6 separate regions of the Homo sapiens genome follow, and regions 1, 2, 3, 4 and 6 are each linked to region 5. The links are contacts of gene promoters, found by promoter capture Hi-C in blood cells and fetal thymus (Javierre and others, 2016). All regions are on one chromosome and are shown on one strand. The core of a region is centred on a gene start or on the middle of the fragment in contact, and the rest is flanking DNA. Distances in the headings are between cores, read along the strand shown.

Region 1 (2,700 bases), core at 73-2,572, 650 kb before region 5:
GAAGATAATCCTAGGCTGTCACCAACACTGAGATGATTAAAGCAGTTAAAAAGTAAACTCTGGACAGAGTCCAAAGCTTGGGTTTTAACCCTTATTTTGTCTTTAATTCATCTCTAATAATATAGGCAGGTCACAAACTTTCTGAGACTTAGTTTCCTCACCCAGAAAAATTAGGACCCAGGTCAGATAATGTCAAAGGTCTTTCTCCACATTAATATTTTATAATTTCCTTTGCCACACAAACATACAAGTTTTCCTGGTGCTATTTATTTACTTATCTTACAAGTTAGAGTTCAATGTCTGCAGATGACTGGGGATTCTCAACAGCTCTCTTACCAGATTTCTGAGTAAGTTTTCCAAGAGTTTTCCCACTTTATTTCTCTCCATCACTATGTGGTAGAACAGGCATGTGGGGGCATTTAGCCAATTGCTGGTCAAAAGTAGAACTTCTCCATGATTAGCAGTGACAACTATATGATTTGACAACTGCAAATCATAACTGCTTCTCACTGCATTCTGGTCAAAGCCTTAATTCCTTAGCATGGGACACAAGGCCCTCCATGATTCACTTCTTACCCACTTTTCTAAACTTATCTCTCACTGAAACCTTTGGGCTTTGGTTATACTGTATTAATTAAAGTTCCTTAAATGCATGATGCTCATTTATTCCTCTAAACATTTAAACATCTTGCCTGGCTTGCCTTTCCATCTTTTCCTCTCCCATTTAGTTAACGTCTACTTATCCTTTAAAATTCAGCCACTTCTCACATACTATAGGAAGTCTTCTATGAACCAATATTTCTCCCTTCTCAACCCAGATTATGTAGTGTGCTGCAGAGAACCCTGTGGTTCACAGTTACTGAATACTGTGATGGTTTACTTGCCTCTCCTACCACTAGACTGGGAATTGCATGATGACACACCTGGCAGAGTGCCTGACACACAGGAGGCATTTAGCAATATGCTTTCCATACCTTTATTTTCAGTAGTTTTTACTACATATGCCTTCCGCATTTGTAGTTTTTTTCTAGTTTCTTCAACTGTTTCAAATTCTGGAGCATAGCACACATGAAGCAATCCACCGAAGAAACTCTGTTCATCCATTTTTCTCTTGGCTGTCCTGAATGGAAATACAAGATAGCATAGTTTTTTAATCTAGATTTACTTGGGATGAAAGCTTAACTAGTATGCAATATCTGGATCTAAAGAGCAAAGTCCAGCTTTTGCTACGTGTATATATATCCTGTGGATTGGGAATTAAGATGCTCTGCTTGTGGACAGTATTCATCCCATTGATCGAGTATGTACTCGTAGAGCCTCCCCTTTCCTTCCCTTTGAGCCTCTTTGTTCCCTAGTCTTTAAACAACTAAGGACCCAGCTGGTTGGCCTGAAGTATGTAAACTGTGGTCATAAAATGGAGCTTTTCTCTGTGGCCCTGAAGAGTTGGTTCATACCCAATTAAGCTTTTTCAGCACTATGTATTTCTGTGATGGGATTCATGCCTTAAAAATCAGATGAAAGATACTATAATCATAAAACATTCAATAACTGAGGAACTATTAAATATATAACAATGAGAAAATGAGAAGAATGTTATTCAGTCAATAAATACTTACTAAACATCTATGACTGGCCAGGTACTACAATAAATTTAACTACTTCTATATCCAGGGATAATGATAAATACTTGTTGAGATTTCACCATATGCCAGGCAATGTCATAAGCGCTTCACTTGAATTAACACCTAAAAACAACACTGTAATGAAACTGAAGCACTGGGACATTATGTAACTTAGCCATGCTCATAGTCTGGTTTGAGGAGCAAGGATTCAAATCCAGATGTCTTACTTCAGAGCCTACCAGACTACGTACTATAGAAAACAGAAAAGCTCTAGAAAATGTTTCCCTAACCATGGGAGCTGGCAGGTTGGTTAAGAAAGTGAAATTACATATAACAGCAGCCTGAGAAAACCACACAAGACCCAGTAAAATCAAGTGCTTTTGTGGTAGACTATGAGTTCTACTGATAGCACAAGAAAGAAAATATGAATTGTAATAGCCAGAGAAGGATGGGTCTCAGAGCAGATTAGTGAGGAGAACAGAGATCAATATAAAAATAGATAAGGCACTGCATACTTCAGCCTTTTTGGAGCAGAGGATTATGTCACATAGAAGGCTGGAAAAAACTGAGTCAGTTTGCAGAAAGGAGTAACAGTAGAAACCACAATAGCTAATGTTTACTGTATTCTGACCAGGATACACCTTTATATGGATTATCTCATTTCATCCTCATACAACCCCAAGAAGTAGATAGGTCCCTTTACCATACAGATTTTATGGAAGAGGAAAAACTTAAACAGGTTAAATAACTTGCCCAAGATCATGAAGCTAGTAAGCAGTGGAAATGGAAAACTTACTCCAAACCCAACTTTTTTTTTCTTTTGAGACAGAGTCTCACTCCATCACCCAGGATGGAGTGTAGTGGCCCATAAGACTCACTGCAACCTCCACCTCCTGGGCTCAACTGATTCTCCTACCTCGGCCTCCCAAGTAGCTGGAACTACAGGAATGCACCAACACACCCAGCTTGATTTTTGTATTTTTACAAAATACAAAATACTGGCCATGTTGGCCAGTCTGGTCTCGAACTCCTGGGCTCAAGCAATCTGCCTACCTTGGCCTTCCAAAGTGCTGGGATC
Region 2 (2,743 bases), core at 201-2,700, 540 kb before region 5:
AATGTATGTGAACAATAATCACAGTCTCTGGTTTTAGTTTCTACAAGGCCGAGGAAGTGTCATGGGCAACAGCTGCAACCACTCTGGTGATGCTAGCACTCACTTTGTTTGCTCTACAAACAAAAGTAGGTATTATTGAAGGGAGTGTGCCAGGTATGTCCCTTTGTCCCCAACCCATTTTCCTATGCCTTCCCCTGCTCTCTCAGTCCTGGAGGTCTCACCTCCAGGGCCCTCTTGCCTTAGGGCTTTCCATGGGCTTTGGCCAATGGGGAGTTCCAGCTGGAGACAGGAGGCAGGAAGAGAGAGGTACTGATTCCTATGGCTTCCTCCCAATGACAAGTTCCTCTTGGGCTAGCGGTGTGCCTTAGCAAGATTCACTGCCTGTCACAAGGTGGCCAACTCAACACAACCTTCTGGACTCCTGTAACTGCCCCCTCTCCTTTCCTCTTTGGGCCTGGGGCTGGTAACAGCTCTTTGGCTGGCTGCCAGACTAGCTTACTTCACTACCCGTTCTGGTTGCCTGCAGACACTTCTGTGGAGAGTTCCTTTACAAACAAACCCTCCTCAAATCATCCTATTTGAGTGTGTCATCTGTTCCTTGCTGGGGCCCTGACTGATACAGGGAATTTAAAAATTTAAAAGTTGTACAGTTTACCAGGCTCCAAAATGCCAAGATGTCCCAGAGAACATCTCATAATTTGAGATTATTTCAGTTGAATTGTGAGATGGCTCAGCCTCTGTCCAACCATAGGGTGTTCTTGAGATCTGATGCAGCATTTCCTGCGGCCCCTCCTTTCAGTCCTGGTCAATTTCCTTTTGTAAAGCATGGGCTGGCCTTAGTTAGGTAAATAACTTACACAGAAGGGAGTGCATTTCCCAAGCTGTTTGGCACACATCATAAGGAAGATCTTACACACATGCAGAATTTTAGCATTTTCCTAGTGGAAAAAGAAGTGTCAGAGAGACAGAAGGATCTACTAGATATTTAGTTAAACTGTATCAAAAGTTAGAGATTCAACTTTAATTCATGATGAGATCAGTATTTGCCATCTTAAAGCTGGCCATTTGTAGAAACCAGCCTATTTGTAAATAGATAGGCTTCCTTGCAATGAGTAAGGTGGACCACTGTTGAATGCACAGACTCCTTAAGCCATTTAAAATCCTCTAAGCTGGCCAGGTGTGGTGGCTCATGCCTGTAATCCCAGCACTTTCGGGAAGCCAAGGCGGGCGGATCACAAGGTCAAGAGATCGAGACCATCCTGGCCAACATGGTAAAACCCCGTCTCTACTAAAAATACAAAAATCAGCTGGGTGTGGTGGCGTGCGCCTGTAGTCCCATCTACTCAGGAGGCTGAGGCAGGAGAATCGCTTGAACCCCGGAGGCGGAGGTTGCAGTGAACCGAGATCGTGCCACTGCACTCCAGCCTGGTGACAGAATGAGACTATGTCTCAAAAAAAAAAATCCTCTAAACTGCCAGAATACTTTTTAAAAAGCCCATTAGTATTTTAAGTCACAGGTAACCTATGACCTGGGTTCAGGGGAGTGAATATTGCATTGCAAAGCATTTTATTTTATTGTTTGTTTATTTATTTATTTTTGAGACAGGCTCTTGCCCTGTCACCCAGGCTGGAGTGCAGTGGTGCAGACATGGCTCATTGCAGCCTCTGCTTCCAGGGCTCAAGTGATCCTCCCATCTCAGCCTCCCAAGTAGCTGGGACTACAAGCATTTGCCACCACACCTGGCTAATTTTTAAATATTTTGTAGAGTAGGGTTCTCCTTATGTTGCCCAGGCTGGTCTTGAATTCCTAGGCTCAAGTGATTCTCCCTCCTCACCTCCAAAACTGCTAGGATTACAGGCATGAGCCACTATGCCCGGCCAGAAAATATTTTAAAGATGGTATTCACATTGATGACTTTGAAAGGCAGCTGAACCCATGGTCAACCACATTCTTCTCCCTTATTATGTATTGGAGATGGCAAAATTCAGTCCAACCACAACCCAAGCAGTGTAGAGGAAATGTAGGAACACAATGAGTCTTGAGTTTTTTCATGAACCCCAACTGTCCACTTAGCAGGGAGAAAATTAACTAAATGTCCATTTGGTTTAACTGTAATTGGACCTCACAGTTGAAGCAGTTCCTTTGGGCTGGGTGATAGTGTCATGTGGATACAAAACACTCAGCTGCTCAGCCTCCCTGTCTCCCTGCCTTTCTCTCTAAAGTGGGGTCTGGGAATATGGGATGTGACTGTGGTTTGTGTGGGCTCTTGGCACTGGCCAAGAAGGGGACAGGGCGAGGATGGGGTGGGGATGCTACCGTCCACCATTGTTCCTGAATGACTGTCACCTGGACCCCAGAGTGACTGCCTGCTCTGTGGGCCTCTGAAGCTGACAACCCACCACAGGTGTGACTTGGAACCTGCTCTCTCTTGGGCTTGGTCAGAGCTGACAGGGCTCCCCACCTGAATTTACCTCACCCCAGTTATCCTTCCTTAATGATGTCACATCTTCTTTCTGCCAACAAGGAGCAAGCCTTAGGGTTTCATTGTCCTAAGCCAGATTTACTGCTCTCCAGACCTGGGTTGTCCAAGAGAAGTATAATGTGAGCCACAAATGCAAGTCATATGTATAATCTTAAATTTTCTAGTAACTACAGTAAAAAGTCAAAAGGGACAGGTGACATTCTTTAGATAGTATATTTTATTTAACCATATAACTCATAACCATATATATATATATATAT
Region 3 (2,708 bases), core at 105-2,604, 580 kb before region 5:
TCCCCTGCAAGCTGAAGCATGCAGCAGTTAGACCAGTTTTTCCATTCTTCTTAATTCCCAAGGCCCTTTCCTAGGCTTTCATAATGCAAGACACAAGGACAGATGATTATTATTTCTAGGCTTCGGATATTTGTGCAGAGGACTAGAGTTGAGAAAGGGAGCCTTGACTGTGGTAGGCCTGAATGTGTTCTAAGTTTGGACATGACCTCAGAGTGAGCACTGAGGCTGGCCCACAGGCCAGAAACCCACAAAAATATGGCTGTCCATCTTGCCCACCTGCCTAACAGTTTGTCCCATAAAAGCATTAAATTAGGAGACAGAAATCAACTAGGTGCAGAGTTTTGTTACTGCATTGCACGTCTCCTGAGTTCTCAAATCCGTATTTTCAATTATCTAATGGATATTCAAGTCCAGGAGATGGCTCACAGTCCTCACATTACAAAACAGAACACACACCTCACATCACATGCAAATCTCCACCTAGCCTTGTTTACTAACTGGGAGATTTTTAAATTATAAGAATCAAGTAGGATCTTTGCCCACGTATTTTTTTAAGAGTTTTTCACCTACCAAAAAGTTGTACTCAATGTCTTCCTTAATTCATCCTCCTCACTCAGTCTCTATTTACAACTGGTTATTAAATTCTGTTGACTTTATCTCCTATATATCTATTTTTTAAAGATTATGGTAAAATATGCATAACAAAACTTACAATTTTAACCTTTTTTTTGAGACTAAGTCTCGCTCTGTCCCCCAGGCTGGAGTGCAGTGGCGCAATCTCAACTCACTGCAACCTCTGCCTCCTGGGTTCAAGCAATTCCTAGGCCTCATCCTCCCAGCAGCTGGGACTACAGGCACCCACCACCACACTCGACTAATTTTTGTATTTTTAATAGAGATGGGGTTTCGCCACGTTGGCCAGGCTGGTCCTTAACTCTTGACCTCAACTGATCTGCCTGCCTTGGCCTCCCAAAGTGCTGAAATTACAGGCATGAGCCACCGCACCCAGGTATCAACCTTTTTTTTTTTTTTTTTGAGACGGAATCTGGCTCTGTTGCCCAGGCTGGAGTGCAGTGGCGCGATCTCAGCTCACTGCAAGCTCCGACTCCCAGGTCACACCATTCTCCTGCCTCAGCCTCCCGAGTAGCTGGGACTACAGGTGCCTGCCACCATGCCCGGCTAATTTTTTTTTTATTTGTTTTTATTTTTTAGTAGAGACAGGGTTTCACCATGTTAGCCAGAATGGTCTCAATCTCCTGACCTCATGATCCGCCTGTCTTGGCCTCCCAAAGTTCTGGGATTTACAGCCATGAGCCACTGCGCCAGCCCAGTATTAACCATTTTTAAGTGTACAATTTAGTGTCATTAAGTACATTCATCATGTTGACTACTGTCACTACCCATTTCCAGAATTTTTTCAAAATCACTCCAAACCGAAAATTTGTACCCACAATACCCCTCTTCCCACAACCCTGGTAACCTCTAATGTTCTGTATCTATGACATAATTTGCCTATTCTAGGTAACTAACTCATATAAGTGGAATTATACAATATTTGTCCTTTTAAGTTTGGCTTATTTCCATTAACATGTTTTCAAGGTTCATCATTATAGCATGTATCAGAATTTCATTCCTTCTACGGCTGAATAATATCCCACTGCACGACCTCACCACGTTTTGATCATCCATTCGTCTGCTGATGGGTCCTTGTGTTGTTTCTATCTCTGTCAGCTTGGGCTGCTGCAACAAAATACCGTAGCCTGAGTGGTTTAAACAACACACATTCATTTCTCACAGTTCTGGATGCTGAGAACCCAAGAGCAAGGTGCTAGCAGATTTGGGTTCTGGTGAGAGCTCTCTTCCTGGCTGTGGCCACCTTCTGGCTGTCTTCTTACATAGTGAGGAGAGAAAGGAAGGCTTTGGTCTGTTCTCCTCTTCCTAAAAGGACACTAATTCCACTATGCGGGCTCCACCCTCATGACCTCGTAGAAATCTGATTACCTCCCAAAGGCCCTACTCCCCTAATACCATTGCCTTGGGGGCCAGGGCTTTAACATATGAACTTGGGGCATGGGGATCAGGCACACATTCAGCCTGTAACACCATTTAGATTACCATCTTTGGACCTAAATATCTATTTTAAAGTTGTATTTTTTTCCTGACTACGTAAGTAGTGGATGCTAGTAATACAAACTTCAAAATTTTTAAAAGCATAAAGAATATTAAAATGACTGTAATTCCAACTATGCTTGTTATTTTGTTTGTTCCAGTTTTCTTTATATGCATATGTATGCATGTGTATATGTGTGTGTTTTTGTTTTTTTTTTTTACAAAATCAGAATCATTATGTAGTTGTGTCCAGGTTTTACACTAAACATTTTATAAACTTTTTTTTGCGTTATTAAAAATTATTTGTAAATGGTATTTCTGATGACAGCATAAAATTCTATTAGAAAAATATCAAAATTCATTTTCCTATTGTTGGACCTTTAGATTGTTTCTGGTTTTTCACAACTTTAAATACTGTTAACAACTTCTTTTTATACCCATTTTTTGGTCCACATTTTAAATCCTCTTAGCATGGATTCTTAGAAATGAAATTACTGGATCAAGAAGTACTTTTAATACTTTTAAGATTATAGATACATATTGCTATTCTAAAAAGCTATGTTAATTTACATTGGCCACCAGCTGGATAGGGTGTCCCT
Region 4 (2,700 bases), core at 132-2,631, 790 kb after region 5:
GCTGCCCTCTACAGGCCACATGGATATACACATATGTGAAGATGCATAAATAGGGTTCAGTTATATCCAAATAGGATCATTAGTAAAGGTAAGATGAAAAAGAGGGGAGGAGGTTGGGTATATCTGCGTGTCTAAAAGGCTTTAGAATCAAGATGAGAAGCAATCAACATTTATAAGCCTCTGATAAACTTTACCTCTTCAGCCGACAGACATATAAGAAATTATAAACAGTAATATAGTCCTATCATGCCGTTTTCCCTGAGAAACTTAAAAGTATGTCGACAGTCATTTTTTCTTTGTTTTAACTAGGGAGGAGAGGCTGGGGAAGAAAGAGAAGGAAGAATGGTTGACGTGGTTTGATGCCTTTTCCTAACATCTCCAAAGTACATCAGTTTTGATCTAAAACTTATTAAAACTCAGTTCTAAATTAGCAAATAAAAGCCAAAGCATTTAAAGAAGTACACATGATTTTATCCCTAAAAGTTTAATCTTTTAAGCCCTGGCTTCAGTGAAGTAGTTAAAATCTGGCCTAAGAAATGAGAACTACCCTTCATCTTTACTTCAAATCGATTCTTTTGCAATAGTTGTGCCATAAACACACACTCACACACACACATGCACACTCACAGCTGGTATGTTTATTGGTTTAGTCACTAAAGGATTTAGCTGGACAAACATCACAAAGATGATGGCTGATTTAATTGAATTTATGATCAAATGTTTTCTATTGCAGGAAGAGTGGGAAATCACTTATGGGGAGATTTGAATAATTTAAGGGAAGTTCTCTATTTGGCATTATGTTTGTATATCAAGTCTTGAGGGATTAAATACAGCTGAGGACTAGCAGAGAATTCACATAGAGATACACAAAGATATGCTGTATAACAATATAATGAGGGCCAGAATATTGATCCCTTTAATATTTCTATTCATTTGTCTCATTTATAGTCTGAGTAATAATAACCACACACACACACACACACACACATATATATAAACTCTATGAGACTTCCATTGTAAACCAATACTAGATTTTTCTGAAATCCCAAAGATGTTGAAATGATTTTAAAATATTCTTTCAGAGAAGACAGAAAAATAATTGTGTTGGGAGTTGTGTATGTGTGTGTTTCAGGCTTTTCAGTGCATTTTTGTTGTTGTTAAAGACATAATGAAATCTGTTGTTAAAGTAAATGTCACTGCCATGATGGAAATAACCGTTTAACATGGGATCTGTGCCTTAGGGTATGGATGTGGCTCAGTGTCTAAAAGAAAAAGGCCAGTTACTTTCAGAATCCCCTTCCCATTTTCCTCACCACAACAGATATGGCATGGCCATGCTCCCAGCCTTTATTCATTGTGTTTTGAGAGATAATTCATCTACCTTCCCCCTTTAAATGCTGTAAACAGCAAGGATAATTACTTTTAGTCTCACCTCTGAAATGACTGGGCCAAATGGATGCCCAGATCCCACACATCTGGCTTAGGGTTATCCATCAGTTTGTGTACAGGTTATATTACAAGAAAAGGTCCAATAGACATTTGAACTTGGTAACAGTGACCTGTCTATGGGTTTCTTTCAATCTAATTTGGAAAACTGTCTAATAAAATGTGTTTCAAGACTAAGAACAAATCACAGTATTGCATTAATTATGTACAACGCTATTTGTTAACACACCACTCTTAGGAAGAAACTGTTGAGGAAGGGGAAATCTTGTTTTTACACAACAAGCATTAAAAAAAAAAAGTTTTGGTGACCAAGCAGTTCAGCATGTGCCCCTAAGAAGGTAAAAAGAATATTCCAGAAGATGTCTGGGGACTCTATGTAGGAGTGGTATCCATGTTCAAGAGTAATTGCTTATTCGGAGCTGAATGAAACGCTCTCACTGGGAGGTAGGACAGGGAGCACTGAAAAAGAGAAGGGAGGTAAACTAATATTTGCCAAAGGACTGTGTCTAGTAAGGTACCCAGTAATTTATACCCTTACCTTACTTAAAGATTAAACAATAATCCTGCCAAGAGGTTATACAAATTGAAAAGCTGAGGCTCAGAGAGGTTAATGAGCTTCCTGAATATTACACAGCTCAGTAGTGGAACTAGGGATGAACCTGGTTCCTATGCTACCAAAGATGATGCTGGCTCCAAGCATTTAATTGCTATTTGTGTCAATAATTAGCTTGTGCAACCTTCCTTCCTCTCTTCTGTTTTTTTCTTTGCTATGTCAATACTATTTATTGATGGTATATTCTTAGGTCAGTAAGACCACTATGTACACAACATGTTAGATGCAGGTGTTAATAAGAATACTCTAGGAGCTCTATCCTCACAATGAATAGAAATTGAGCCCCAGTATTATAAAGTCTCCCCAAATGAAGAGAGGGATATATTGTTTCATGAAAATCAAATAAGTAGAAGGTGGAATGGGTAACAGTGGATACTAGGGATGACATTGTTGTTAAAATCATCTCTTTCTTAGCTAGGGATGGTGGTAGGTACTTATAGTCCCAGCTACTTGGGAGGCTGAGGTGGGAGGATTGCTTGAGCCCTGGAGGTCAAGGCTGTAGTGAGCCATGATCATGCCACTGCAGCCTGGGCAATAAAGCTGCAAAAAAACAAAACAAAAACGCTAAAAGCGAATAGTGTTTTTCTCCAGTGACTTCTTATATTCATCTTTATTTTGAGGCTGAACATTCACTAAATTTG
Region 5 (2,700 bases), core at 149-2,648:
CGGGAGGCAGAGGTTGTAGTGAGCCGAGATCGCGCCATTGCACTCCAGCCTGGCAACAGAGTGAGACTCCGTCTAAAGGAAAAAAAAAAAAAAAAAAGAAAAAGGAGAAAGAAATGGGATAAAGAAAATTCTTTTTCTTTCTTGAGACAAGGTTCACTGTGTCACCCAGGCTAGAGTGTAGTGGCACAATCACGGCTCACTGCAGCCTCAACCTCCCAGGCTCAGGTGATTCTCCCACCTTAGCCTCCCAAGTAGCTGGGACTACAGGCACCTGTGACCACGCCTGGCTAATGTTTGTACTTTTTGTAGAGATGGGGTTTCACCATGTTGGCCAGGCTGGTCTCGAACTCCTGGCCTCAAGCCATCCTCCCGCCTTGGCCTCCCAAAGTGCTGGGATTACAGGCATGAGCCATCGCGCCCGGCCAGAAAATTACATCATTAGGCTTGTACATGGAGGAGTTAGTAATGCCTGAAATTTTTCCTCTTTGTAGAATTCAGGGTCAATCCTGTTGATCCTGTGTTTTTTTAAGGACCAAATCACCATCGTCTCCTGAGGATAACTCGACAGACACAATTAATTCATTAATGTAGATATTATCTTTCTTTTGATGGTCACAGGAGAAGTGCCTTGAATTGAAGCTTTATCTCTTCCATTGTCACCATCACTAGGCAGGTGAGGCTGACAGGACCGCGTGGCTTAAGGCAACGCCTCGGGAGGGAGCAAAAATGCATCCACTGTGGAGATGAGGTTTCGGTTGCCTCCATTCTTTAAATAGCGCAAACCCTCACAATGTCAAAAGAATCATATTTGAATTCGAACTGCAAGTAAGGAAATCGAAGTATACTAGAATTGATTTCCAGCCTGAAGGCGGATGCTGAATTCAGACCAGCAGTGACACTCCAGGATTTCCACGGTAGTTCATTAAAGGAGGAGAATCTGGGACTAAACAGACAGAGTCTACACCCGCTTATCCTGCACCAAAAAACGCCGAGATGTTCATCGGCATCGCGTTAGTCACATTAGCAGCAGCAATCGCATTATCAAAAACTGCAACACGCATGTAAATAATAGCTACTTTTCCACCACGTGTCGTCGGCCGGCAGTGGATGCCCCCTGTAGGATCCCTATAAGATGCCTTACAGTTCCCCACGGACATCTGCCCAGGCGACTGGGAGTCCCAGGCCCCACCCCACCCTCCAAACCCCTTCTTTGGCGTTCAATACCCCGCGCTCACCGCGGTCTCTTGCTGCCCCCTGCCAGGCCCCTAGCGTCGGGCTGCGAAGGGCTGAAGTACCGCCACGAGGGGGCGCAGGACCAACGACATCACCTCTGCGCGCGACCCGAGGCCGGAAGTTAGTCTTTTCCACTTCCGCTCCTCCTAGCCGCTCCGGACCCCAGAGGCGGAAGTAAAAGCGAACTACAGTGGATGGGTGCAGTTCAGGGTGAGATTGGGAAGGTGGTGAGGCTGTGCTTTCCTTTCTTTTTGTTAAGAAGTGGGTGTGGGTGACTGCTGTACAGTGCAGCCCTTTGCAGATTTGTCTTTGGAGGAGGAAGAGGGATGGAAAGAGCCTTCGGTGTGGAATTACCTTGGTTTTGAGTTAAGAAAGACCCACCTGGGTTCGAACCCTAATGCTTCAGCTAGCGAAGGCAGGCTAGTATGGGAGCTCGGCGCTGTTTCAGATTTTGTAATTTTAAGGCTTATGCCTACCTTTTAAATTGTTGTGGGGAGTAAAGCGAGACAATATATATGAAGCACTTAGCTTTGGTACAAAACGTATTCGTGATTCCGCTACCTTTTCCCATCATATGTAGGCATGTACTTGCCGTTTTCTTTTCTGTATGTCTGAGAAATGTTGTTTGCAAGAGGTAATGCATCTCACGAGAACATAATGCAACGAGAACGTTAGCTGGGATCGATCTCTTATTTTGTATTAGGAAGGCCTGAAATATTTTGCCTTTTTTTTGTGTGTGTGTGTCATTTCCAGAGATAGCTGTTCTCCAGCCTTTCTGGAGGGATGCAGAGCCTTTCCTTAGGACAAACAAGGTGAGAAATGCATGTAAAGATCTCCAAACTTAGCTTGCTGTATCAAAAGAAGACCAGCTGGAATGTGGTATTTTAGGGCCAGTGATTAGTTATTTCCATTAACAGCCTTTTTAACAGGCCAGTTGTGGGGCAGAGGCGAACGTAAATCTTTTTTTAGACCCCTCATACTACAAGCATAGAAATTTTCAGTGTTTGTTAAGTTTGAACATTAGCCCTTTGGATAATGGTTTTGGTTAATTAAAAAGTCAATTTGAGAAATAGATCGAAGTCAATTTTTGAATAGGTACCATTTTTGAAATTTGTACGTGAGGAAAGTTGCTAACTTTCTTGTATTAGGCTATTTAGATGTTCATTTACCCTACTAGATATTATGAGTATTTTGAATGGAGATCCGTTGCTAAGAGTAAAGCATCATGGAGAATTTTGAAGTGTGACTTTTTTGGTACTAGAAACCGAAAAATAGATAAAGATAATTTGTATTTTCCATTGTTTTTCACACCAAAGGCCAGTTTTACTTGTTTAAATTTTTTCATCTGACTGCAAAGTAACACATATTCATTAAATAAAGTCCCAGTATTTCAGAAGTAGTACATAGCCTCTAATAATCTTTCAGAAATAAGTGTCATTCCACTTTCCCCCTCTGTATATATTAACG
Region 6 (2,700 bases), core at 177-2,676, 620 kb after region 5:
CCAAATGCCAATCCAGGTGCGCGAGAAGCGCAGCTCCTCGGGCCCGAAGTACATGAGCCCATACACCTTGGTCGGCTCACAAGGTGCGCCGCAGTCCTTCTCCCCCAGGAAGTGGTAGTTGAGGTAGGAGGGCACCTTGAGGGCGCGCGGGCAGGAGAACTTGCCTCGCTCCGACGCGCCGGCGCCCCCCGGGAAGCCGCCACGGTGCCCTCCGCCGCCGTGCTGAGGGTTGCTGGTCCAGAACTCTGGAAGCAGCGAGGGCGTCGGGGTGCCCTTGTCGGACGTGTTCTGGCCCACGCACAGCTCGCCGGCGCCGTGCACCGGGAACTTCTCACACTTGAGCGTGTCTGGCCACTGGAAGCCGAACTTGTTCATGAGCGCCTCGCAGCCCTGGCGCGCGCGCTCGCACAGGGAGCGGCAGGGCGGCAGCGCCTGCTCTAGCACGGTGCACACGGGCGCGTACATGGAGCACAGGAAGAACTTGAGCTCAGCGGAACACTGCACTTTCACTAGAGGGTAGAACTGGTGCACCTCCAGGCCCGCGTCCTCCTGGTTCGTGTGGCCCAGCAGGTTGGGCATGATGGTCTGGTTGTACGCGATGTCCGTGCACAGCGGGATGGAGATGGGCTGGCAATAGCCGTGGTCCGGGACGGAGATGCCCCGCTCGCCGTTGTACTGCTGCCCGCTCTGTTGCTGCTGAGGCGGCGGCGGCGGTTGCTGCCCCGGCCCGGGCCCCTGGCCTGGCCCCTGGCCCGCCGCCTGGGCCCGGACCCCCAGCAGCAGCGGAGCCTCCAGCAGCCAAAGCAGCAGCAGCAGCTGGCGCGCCAATCGCCGGGGGTCAACTGGCGGGCGGCGGCGGCCACCGGCGTCCCCGCTGCCCTCCTCCGCCAGCCGGGCCGAGAGCGCCCCGGCACAAAGTTCCCAGCTCGCGCCACCGCCGGCGGCCCGGGACTTCTTAGGCGCCTCCTCCTCAGCCATACTTTCTCGGCTCCTCTCTTGGCGCCGCTCCGCTGGGGCTGCCAGGGGCACGGCCGGCGGCGGCTCCCCCTGCGGCCAGGGAGACCTCTGCGCGGGTGCCCTCCGTCGAGCCCAAGCCGCTTTCGGCCCGCTCCCCCGGCTCCTGTTCTGCGTACCGCAGCCGCCGCCGCCGCGGAAACTTGCGATTCATGAAGCGCGGGCGGCGGGGAGAACCCGGGTGGCTAGGGCGCGCCGGGGTCGTGTCCCGCCTTCCTGGCCCTCGGCTCGCTGGCTCCCGGCTGGCGGCGCCGCGCTAGTGGCCGCGGCCCCGTAGAGAGCGCAACTCTCCGCAGCCCAGCGGGCTCGGCTCCCCCCTGCGCCTCCGCCTCCTTCTCCGCCGCCGCCGCCTGACCATTTGTGTCAATCCCTCAACTCGCTCCCTCTCCTCTGCCTCGCGCGCCCTCGGACCGGTTTCCAGGCGCCCCGTAGTCTGTCTTTCACCAGGAGGGAGGAGCCTTGAAACCGACGCAGAACTGGAGGCTCAGGGACCGTCGCCCAATCGCGGCTCCGGCTTCCCGGCGCAAAGGGAGCCGGCCGCCTCCTCGCCAGAGCGAAAGCCAGCGGCAGGAGGGCGGGGTAGGAGGAGGCGGGAGGAGGAGGAAGTAGTGGTGGTGGCACTACTCAGGCACAAAGAGTAGGATTGCTCTGAAGCGGGACAGGCTTGGTTGCTTTTGCTTTTTCAGAAGAAAAAGGCGAGGATACGTAGGAGAATGGTCCCATATGCTGCTGGAGATAATGAATAGGAGTCAGAGGACCGCGGGACTTCGCTTTTCTTTTATTTTATCCATTATCATGTTTAAAAATCCTGCTCTTAACGCTGGTTACCAACAGCAAACCGGGTTCTGCTTCCAGAACAGATGCCTTTGACTTAAGGAGCGCACGGTTTCCTTTGAGTTTGTGTCTGTCGAGGTTTTGTTTAACATATTACATTAATAAATCCTCCAGTTCGCAGGCTGGGCTTGGCGGGCTTTGGTCGCGCCATTTCCCCAGAGGAGACGTTCACGGGATCGCTGTCAAATGAAACAAAACACAAACTTTGATGGAATTTGGAAAGTAAAGCCAGATGCGCCTTCTGCTACTATCATTCTTCTTGGAGTCAAACTCCTTTTTTTCCGCCTCTTTAATCAAGTCAGAAACAGAAGCAAAAGAAAACTATCCATTAAATTTTTGGAGAGAAAAACTTAAGAACCCGACGACCGAGGCAGTGGGGGCGCCTCTCTGGGATCGTCCTCGCCGCTCCAGACCGCAGAGGTGGCGCCGGCGGGAGCTGCACTCGCCGGCAGCTTGGGCCCCTGGGGAGCCTTTCTAAACCCTGGGGACGCCCACGGCTCCGATGGGAACTCCTGGGACCTGGGCCATTTAGGTTCCACAGGCTGGGCTGCAGAGCTGGAGACGCCAGTTTAATAAACAAAACAAACAAACAGTCTGAAAGCAAACAGCGAACTGCACATTCTCTTCCTAATTCCAAAACAGCATAATCCGTCTCAACAGACGCACATTAATGTTGTTTTCCTTGTAAGATTATTTTAAATGATGGTTTGACTATGTAATTCAGTTTTATAAGAAAAGTGCCATTGGACTATTAATTCTTCCATTTTTTTTTTTTTTTTGCCTGTGATCAGACTCTATCTCAGCGTACTTTTCACCAATTACTTTCTATCATTCATTTACACATTCATTTGT

Evidence for each region. Contacts are between HindIII fragments. The CHiCAGO score rates a contact against its expected background, and 5 or more counts as called.
Region 1: a contact is called between a fragment that was not itself captured here and the fragment with the promoter of MTERF1 in region 5, in 2 of 17 cell types (non-activated CD4 T cells and fetal thymus). The highest score is 7.4, in non-activated CD4 T cells.
Region 2: a fragment that was not itself captured here is called in contact with the fragment with the promoter of MTERF1 in region 5 in 1 of 17 cell types (fetal thymus); the score reaches 5.8 in fetal thymus.
Region 3: a contact is called between a fragment that was not itself captured here and the fragment with the promoter of MTERF1 in region 5, in 2 of 17 cell types (megakaryocytes and fetal thymus). The highest score is 8.5, in megakaryocytes.
Region 4: a contact is called between a fragment that was not itself captured here and the fragment with the promoter of MTERF1 in region 5, in 7 of 17 cell types (naive CD4 T cells, non-activated CD4 T cells, total CD4 T cells and 4 more). The highest score is 18.6, in naive CD4 T cells.
Region 6: a contact is called between the fragment with the promoter of FZD1 here and the fragment with the promoter of MTERF1 in region 5, in 1 of 17 cell types (monocytes). The highest score is 6.2, in monocytes.

The regions. Positions count from the first base shown.
Region 1 is chr7:92,530,824-92,533,523 of GRCh38, reverse strand. RBM48 (RNA binding motif protein 48) reads right to left here. Exons shown (of 5, transcript NM_032120.4): 3 at 975-1,120. Among named protein-coding and RNA genes, the nearest start is that of RBM48, 3.4 kb to the right of the region's middle. The HindIII fragment of the contact is 286 bases long and covers 1,180-1,465 here.
Region 2 is chr7:92,419,578-92,422,320 of GRCh38, reverse strand. It overlaps the pseudogene TMBIM7P. Among named protein-coding and RNA genes, the nearest start is that of GATAD1, 27 kb to the left of the region's middle. The HindIII fragment of the contact is 3,885 bases long and covers 1-2,743 here.
Region 3 is chr7:92,461,990-92,464,697 of GRCh38, reverse strand. It overlaps a transcript of GATAD1 not described here. Among named protein-coding and RNA genes, the nearest start is that of ERVW-1, 15 kb to the left of the region's middle. The HindIII fragment of the contact is 3,225 bases long and covers 1-2,708 here.
Region 4 is chr7:91,086,858-91,089,557 of GRCh38, reverse strand. The region is part of intron 12 of CDK14 (cyclin dependent kinase 14); the gene reads right to left. Among named protein-coding and RNA genes, the nearest start is that of FZD1, 180 kb to the left of the region's middle. The HindIII fragment of the contact is 5,564 bases long and covers 1-2,700 here.
Region 5 is chr7:91,879,400-91,882,099 of GRCh38, reverse strand. It overlaps MTERF1 (mitochondrial transcription termination factor 1), which reads left to right and starts at 1,398. Exons shown (of 3, transcript NM_006980.5): 1 at 1,398-1,443; 2 at 1,987-2,045. The coding sequence starts at 2,017. LOC112267986 (a long non-coding RNA gene) reads right to left here and starts at 1,298. Exons shown (of 2, transcript XR_002956514.2): 1 at 1,236-1,298. The HindIII fragment of the contact is 3,297 bases long and covers 642-2,700 here.
Region 6 is chr7:91,263,159-91,265,858 of GRCh38, reverse strand. FZD1 (frizzled class receptor 1) reads right to left here and starts at 1,426. Exons shown (of 1, transcript NM_003505.2): 1 at 1-1,426. The coding sequence starts at 978. RefSeq lists silencers at 682-741, 832-1,341 and an enhancer at 1,462-1,641. The HindIII fragment of the contact is 4,268 bases long and covers 1-2,700 here.